2 separate regions of the Homo sapiens genome follow, and region 1 is linked to region 2. The links are contacts of gene promoters, found by promoter capture Hi-C in human tissues and cell types (Jung and others, 2019). All regions are on one chromosome and are shown on one strand. Each heading gives the region's core, a stretch centred on a gene start or on the middle of the fragment in contact. The rest is flanking DNA. Distances are from core to core; before and after follow the strand shown.

Evidence for each region. The method cuts DNA at HindIII sites, captures the fragments that hold promoters and counts their contacts. A contact is called where the count stands out against the background at its distance.
Region 1: a contact is called between a fragment that was not itself captured here and the fragment with the promoter of GTPBP4 in region 2, in 1 of the 25 tissues and cell types used here (dorsolateral prefrontal cortex).

The regions. Positions count from the first base shown.
Region 1 is chr10:454,728-458,527 of GRCh38, forward strand. All of the region lies in intron 3 of DIP2C (disco interacting protein 2 homolog C), which reads right to left. Among named protein-coding and RNA genes, the nearest start is that of DIP2C-AS2, 170 kb to the right of the region's middle. The HindIII fragment of the contact is 4,493 bases long and covers 1-3,800 here.
Region 2 is chr10:986,153-990,178 of GRCh38, forward strand. It overlaps GTPBP4 (GTP binding protein 4), which reads left to right and starts at 2,282. Exons shown (of 17, transcript NM_012341.3): 1 at 2,282-2,375. The coding sequence starts at 2,328. It also overlaps a transcript of LARP4B not described here. The HindIII fragment of the contact is 8,297 bases long and covers 679-4,026 here.

The DNA of each region.
Region 1 (3,800 bases), core at 825-3,324, 530 kb before region 2:
AAGAGGTAGTATACAAACGCACCCTCTATGCTCGATGTCATTATTGCAATGAGATATTCGGGGGATAAAAACATGAGCACCCCTGGAACCCTCAGAGAAAGAGGTAGTATACAAATGCGCCCTTTATGCTTGAAGTCATTATTGCTGTTACTAGTATTCTAGATTACTATGTATATCCACAGCTTTAAATCTTTAGAAAAACCCATACCCTTCACTTCCATCTTTTGAAGTCATAAATCACAATCCATTTCCTAGAGCTCCTGCCATTTGCACCAAGCTCACAGCATTACACAGTGAGCACACACACAGCCTGGGGCTGCTGTCCAATGGCAAAGACAACCATGAGTCAACAGAAGAGAATGTTCCTCCAAGGTAGATACGTGGCTTCACAGCAGCAGAGCAGGAAGACGTAGGTTCGGGAGCCAGGCCGCACCGGTTCAAACCCCAGCTCCTCTGTGACCTTGGGCAAGTTGCTTAACCTATTTGCACCCCCATTTCCCTGGGTGCAAATCAGGAACAGTGAGTCCCTGCCTGAGGAGTGGCCCATGAGGAGTAAATGAGATGAAAACACTCTGCAGTGAGTCCCTGCCTGAGGGGAGACCGTGAGGAATAAATGAGATGAAAACACTGCAGTGAGTCCCTGCCTGAGGGGAGACCGTGAGGAGTAAATGAGATGAAAACACTCTGCAGTGAGTCCCTGCCTGAGGGGAGACCGTGAGGAGTAAATGAGATGAAAACACTCTGCAGTGAGTCCCTGCCTGAGGGGAGACCGTGAGGAGCAAATGAGATGAAAACACTCTGCAGTGAGTCCCTGCCTGAGGGGAGGCCGTGAGGAGCAAATGAGATGAAAACACTCTGCAGTGAGTCCCTGCCTGAGGGGAGGCCGTGAGGAGCAAATGAGATGAAAACACTCTGCAGTGAGTCCCTGCCTGAGGGGAGACCGTGAGGAATAAATGAGATGAAAACACTCTGCAGTGAGTCCCTGCCTGAGGGGAGACCGTGAGGAATAAATGAGATGAAAACACTCTGCAGTGAGTCCCTGCCTGAGGGGAGGCCGTGAGGAGTAAATGAGATGAAAACACTCTGCAGTGAGTCCCTGCCTGAGGGGAGGCCGTGAGGAGTAAATGAGATGAAAACACTCTGCAGTGAGTCCCTGCCTGAGGGGAGGCCGTGAGGAGTAAATGAGATGAAAACACTCTGCAGTGAGTCCCTGCCTGAGGGGAGGCCGTGAGGAGCAAATGAGATGAAAACACTCTGCAGTGAGTCCCTGCCTGAGGGGAGACTGTGAGGAATAAATGAGATGAAAACACTCTGCAGTGAGTCCCTGCCTGAGGGGAGACTGTGAGGAATAAATGAGATGAAAACACTCTGCAGTGAGTCCCTGCCTGAGGGGAGGCCGTGAGGAGTAAATGAGATGAAAACACTCTGCAGTGAGTCCCTGCCTGAGGGGAGACTGTGAGGAGTAAATGAGATGAAAACACTCTGCAGTGAGTCCCTGCCTGAGGGGAGGCCGTGAGGAGTAAATGAGATGAAAACACTCTGCAGTGAGTCCCTGCCTGAGGGGAGGCCATGAGGAGTAAATGAGATGAAAACACTCTGCAGTGAGTCCCTGCCTGAGGGGAGGCCGTGAGGAGTAAATGAGATGAGAACACTCTGCAGTGAGTCCCTGCCTGAGGGGAGGCTGTGAGGAGTAAATGAGATGAAAACACTCTGCAGTGAGTCCCTGCCTGAGGGGAGACTGTGAGGAGTAAATGAGTGACTGAATCAAAGCACTCACAGCGGAGCTGCCTCCTGGTGATTAAAACACTCTGCAAGTGCAAGAGCTTAAGATGCTCCTCCTGGTTAGTGTGACCCAAGTCTGGAAAGAGGACAGAGAAGAAAGCCAAGCCTGGGAGAAGCCAAAACTGTGCAAGAGGCCAGACGAGACAGGCTGCATGGAATTCCACCTGTCCACGGCCACCGTTTGTCTCCACTACACAGGGCCATCTGTGTTCCCTCCCTTTTGTCTCCACTACATAGGGCCATCTGTGTTCCCTTCCACGACGATTTTTGTTCCACCGTTTCGTTCTTTGGTAAACTGCACACAAAAGCAGAGGTGTGGAGAGTTGTGCAAAATGGTCAAGACAGAGTGAAGGCAAGAAGATTTTATTTTATCCTCACTCATTCCTTCTCTAAGTCTTTTCTTCATGTGGACTGGATTCTCTGACCTGCCATGTCCAGGCTATTGATGGGCCCAGCAAAAACATACTTCATTTCTCTTACAGTGTTTATTTCTAGCATTGCCTTTTGATTCCTAGATTTTCCATCTCTCTGCTCACATATCCACCTCCAATTACGGCACAATGGTTTGAGGTTATAATCTCAATTCTTTGACAGATCTAGGAGGAGTTGCTTATTTTCGGTTTGTACAGCTTTTTGCTCAAGAGGACAAGCGTGATGACTTCCAAGCTCCTTAGGTGCTGGACTGGAAGCTACAAGTCTATGCATCTCCTATTTTATTTTATTCTTTTTATTATTGTCTCACTTCTCCCTTCTGTGGACTTAATTTTTTCTAACATGTTAAGATAAATGCTTATTTCTTCAGTTTCCAAGATGTCTTCTGACTTAATATAAAGATTTTAGTCTATAAATTCAAGTACCATTTCCACAGCATCTCACAAATTTTGATTCATCATTTTTCACCTGAAATACAACAGCCCCCTAACCTGTTTCTGCCTTCAGTCAGGAACCCAATCCAATGAAACCAATCTATCCTATATATTTCTGCTACATTGATATGTCCAAAATTCCCTCTTTAGAAATGACGAGGCACAGATAGCAAGATTAAATTCTTTTTTTTCTTTTTAGAGGCAGGGTCTCACTCTGTCACCCAGAGTGGGGTGCAGTGATGTGACAACAGCTCACTGCAGCCTCCAGCTCCTAGGTTGAAGTGATCCTTCCACCTCAGCCCCCTGGGTAGCTGGGACCACAGGTGTGTGGCCACCACACCCGGCTAGTCTTTCATCGTTTGTAGAGATGGGCTCTGACTTTGTCACCCAGGCTGGTCTCGAACTCCTGTCTTCAAGCTCTCCTCCACCTCGGCCTCCCAAAGTGCTGGCATTACAGGCGTGAGCCACTGCACCTGGCCAAAAGTCACTTTCTGTAGTGTGGGACATCTTTATGCTGCGTCCTCAGCTGTGCCTGTGGCCTCTCCTCCCACAGCTGCGGCCCCAGAGCAGCACGTGATGGGGACTGTCTGCAGGTCTGGCAACAGTCCCACCCACACCATCCAGCATGAGAGCCGCCCAGCCACCCGCCCGAAAGTGCAGTGATGAAGCAGGAGGATGATTTTATATATCATCTTAACACATTTAAATGTAAAAGGCCCCACAAGGCTACTGCCCTCATACTGGACAGGGCAGCTCCCACCAGACAGAGCCTGTCACCTCCTCTGGGGACATCACAGTGGCTACACAGTCCTACTTGGCCGCACTGTAGGCCGCCTTCTCTCCTAGCATCATTCTGATGTAAATAAGGAAGTAACACTATGTGTATTGGAATCAATGAGAAAATTGAGTTGTTCAGAGAGAACACAGGTCACAGGACAGGAACCTCATCAAAATCAGTAAATCCAGACTGACTCAGGAAAGATAAACCTTCTCAGTCTAGAAAATTAAACTTCGGCATAGAGGAGGAACTTATACGGTGACCCCCATGATGGCAGATGACCCCGTGACAGCAAGGAGGATGCCCTCTACATTCCTGCCTCACCGGCAGCGCGTGACAGAGTGCTTGGAACCTGTGACGGCAAGGATGCCCTC
Region 2 (4,026 bases), core at 1,032-3,531:
AGGTAAAACAGAAAAGACCAAACCCACAAAATAAAAAGGTCTGAAAAACAAAGCTTTTTACTGAGAAGTGCCTCGCAGTCAGAAGCTTTGCAGAGTACCCTTGAGAGCATCCTTTACTACAGCTGAGAAGTACCTTTCTGTCACAAGGTACACACTCAGAGGCGTCCTGGCAGCTGGAACCTGCTAATGCAGTCAGGAACTGGCAATGTGCCTCGTACTGCAGGCAGCATTTGCGACACTCCTCAGAAAAGGCCTTTAGAGTTTGGCTTCCCCAGAGAAGCCCAGAAGTGTATGATAAAGAAGCTTGCTCCTAGTGGTGTAGAATACATACTTGCCCCCAAGAAGCTATACTCTGCCACAAAATCACAAGAACAGGCAAGGATGTTGATTCTCATCAACACGCACATGGTGTAAGATGCTTGGTACCTTATCATTGTTATAGCTCTGGGCCCATGATGAGTCATTATGGTTGTGCATTCACAGACATGCCTTTGTAGCTGAACAAGTTAAAAGCAGGTGGCTCATGCCTGTAATCTCTGCACTTTGGGAGGCCAAGGTGGGTGGATCACTTGAGGTCAGGGTTTGAGACCAGCCTGGCTAATATGGTAAAACCCTGTCTCTACTAAAAATACAAAATATTAGCCGGGAGTGGTGGCAGGTGCCTGTAATCCCAGCTACTTGGGAGGCTGAGGCAGGAGAATGGCTTGAACCCTGGAGGCGGAGGTTGCAGTGAGCTGAGATGGCGCCACTGCGCTCCAGCCTGCGCGACAGAGTGAGATTCCGTCTCAAAAAAAAAAAAAAAATTAAAGAAAGGATGTTTGCCCATCTGAAGCAAAGTATTGACTGGACTTATCTAAATACCGGATTACAAGAAAAAGAGGAACTGGCTATATCAGAGTGAGAGAAAGTGGGAGAGGTTGAGGAAACATACAAGAACCTAAAAGAAAGGGCAATAAGTATGAGCATAGCTTTGCTAATCTCGGAAATGGTGGCCAGAACTGTCCTGTGGTTTAGCAAATGATCATAGCCAGCAAATCCTAATTACCCTAGAAGCTTCCTTTAGAAGTGCCACAAAGATGTAGGAGGTATGCTTATCCGCCTTGTGACACAAAAATGGAAGCATAGTTAATAGATGAGAAAAGCATGACCCAGAATGATTTTCAATATTGGAATGCTGGGAATTTATGAGAGGTATTTTCGCGTAAGAATAATAGGACTTGTTTAAAAGGATTGGAGAGTGGGGGGCATCCCAGATGCGTGAGAAGCAGTATAGCTAATGGTTAGAAGCAGGTTTGCTGGAGCCAGGCTGCCTGGGTTCAAAGCCCACCTCTGCTGCCTGTTAGCTTGTCAGCTGCACAACCACGGGGTGCTTTCGAGCCTTGTGTGCCTTTGTTTCCCCATGCACTTCATGAGGCTGTTGCAGAAATTAAACGAGTTAATATATAGTCAGCAGCTCTGAACACTGCTTGACTGAGTCAGCCCTACCTAACGTTTAATTTAAGGGATGTGGCCCTGGGTTCCCAAAGGGAGCGGCCACTCTATTCACAAACATAAAAGCAGTAAAGGCTCCATCCTCATCAACCTTCTCCTCAGTTGGACCCCACAGGACTGTCTCTCGCAACTGTTCCCTGGGCTCTCCTAAGGCACTGCGCGGAACCAGCTGCACCTCTTTTGCCTTAGATCAGGCTTTCCCTTCTCCGCCCGTTTTGGGATTTAACAAGCACGAGAAAGCAGGGCTGCAGGGAAGCCGCGAGGGCCTCCTCACCACGGCCCGGGATCAAGTCCCACGCGCGAGGCCGGGGTAGGGGCGTCATCTGCTCCACACCCAGAGGCTGGGCACGCCCCGCACGCGCGGCTTCCTCCTCCTTTGCGGGGCTCGCCGCGACCCAGGACCCCCAGACTCCCGGATCCCCTAGACCCTCTGGACTCCTAAGCCCCGCAACTCCCAAATCCCAAGACCCCGGACCCTCCAACCCTGGCCCAGGGCGCGTGGCTGGGGGCCTGAACCCGCTCCAGAAACCCGCAGGGCAGTCTGTCGGAAACCCCCGCTTTACTCAGCAGGAATTTAGTCTCCGCGCTCCCCCTAAAACCCGGGCGTCCTCTCCTCTGTACCCTCGCTCCTGAGGCCCTCACACGCCCTCCGTGGCTGACCTCCAAGCCGGGCGGGTGCGCTGTGCGACGCGGAAAGCGCCGTAGAGCACGCAGAACACGATTGGCTGAGCTCCCGGAAGTGACGTACCTCAACCGCCCGACAGTGGAAGTCCCACCTGCGCCCGACGGCGGAAGTTCCGGGAGTGCCAAGTACCCGCGTGCATACGGCTGCCGGCATGGCACATTACAACTTCAAGAAAATTACGGTGGTGCCGTCCGCCAAGGTAGGCGGCCCCGGGAGGGCCACTGCAACTTTCGCGTTCTCCTCAGCTGGGTCCCCGGGGAGGGTCCGGGCCTGTAGCCGTGGGAGAGCGGTCGCCTTCCGCTCGCCCATCCCCCGCTCCTGGGCCTGACCGTCTGGCCGCGTACTCGGGATCATTTCCCCTCCCCCAGCAGAATCCGGGGTCCACCAGAGATCGGATCCCCCAGAGACCGGGGTCCACCTAAGACCGTGGTCCACCCAAAGACTGAGGGCCCCCAGAGATGGGGGTACACCCAGAGTTGGGTTCCCTGGAGGGGCCCCGGGTGACGATGTGGGCGAGTGGAGGGGGACCCCGACATGTGAGGGAGGAAGCGTTCCGTGGTCCGTGATGAGCCTTCGGATTCTGGGTTTGGCGTAGCCCCCTCCCCTCTCAGGAATCCTGGGTTCGTTGTTCTCGTGATTTAACGTTTCATAATTTTTAAGTCATTCTCTTTCACTGTTAGATTTGGGAATACCTGTTCCTTTTCAGACCATAGTAGGCCCAGACTAAATTTTTACAGCGTTGGTTGGTGTGGCAAGAATGAGTCAACAAGTGTTGAGTATTAGGACTTTTTTTTTTTTTTTTTTTTTTTGAGACATAGTTTTTCGCTCTTGTTTCCCAGGCTGGAGCGCAGTCTCGGCTCACTGCAACCTCCACCTCCCGCGTTCAAGCGATTCTCCTGCTTCAGCCTCCCGAGTAACAGGGATTACAGTCGTGCACCACCACACCCAGCTAATTTTCGTATTTTTAGTAGAGACGGGGTTTCACCACGTTGGCCAAGCTGGCCTCGAACTCCTGATCCCGGGTGATCCTCCCGCCCCGGCCTCCCAAAGTGCTGGAATTACAGGCGTGAGCCACTGCGCCCGGCCCTAGTATTAGGACTTTTAAGAAGTCACGTTTTTATGTAGTGAACATTCGATTTGGGTCGCAATTACACAGACATTGACGGGCAACTGGAGCCTCCCAGGGACTCCTGCACGAGAGGGAGTTACTGAAGTCCCTGCAGAGTGACTGTTTTCCCCTCGTCAGTGCCTCCTTTTCTTCAGGTCTCAAGGACGGGATGAGCTTGCCTTGGAAAGCTTTGTGGGAGTCTCGTATTTTACCTTCATAGCAAAAGTTGTTTCCCCACTTCTCTCCACCATTTCTTATTTCTTCCTGACAGTTGTTCTGGCACATCTCTTGATCGATTGTAGTATTTTCTTTCTTTCTTTTTGAGATGGAGTCTCGCTCTGTTGGCCAGGTTGGAGCGCAGTGGTGTGATCCTGACTGCAGCCACCGCCTCCCAGGTTCAAGTGATTTTCCTGCCTCAGCCTCCCGAGTAGCTGGGACTACAGGCATGCGCCACCAGGCCTGGCTAATTTTTGTATTTTCAGTAGAAGTGGAGTTTCACCATGTTGGCCAGACTGGTCTTGAACTCCTAATCTCAAGTGATTCACTTGCCTCAGCCTCCCAAAGTGTTAGGATTACAGGCATGAGCTACTGTGCCCAGCCAGATTGTAGTATTTTCGAGTGCAGGAGTCATGTCTTATTTGTATTTTTGGTCAACCATCTCTCAGGTTTGTTGAAGGAATTTGCTCTTTGGATTATATGAACTTTGTTCATGTTATTGACTTATGTGGAGAACTTTAGAATA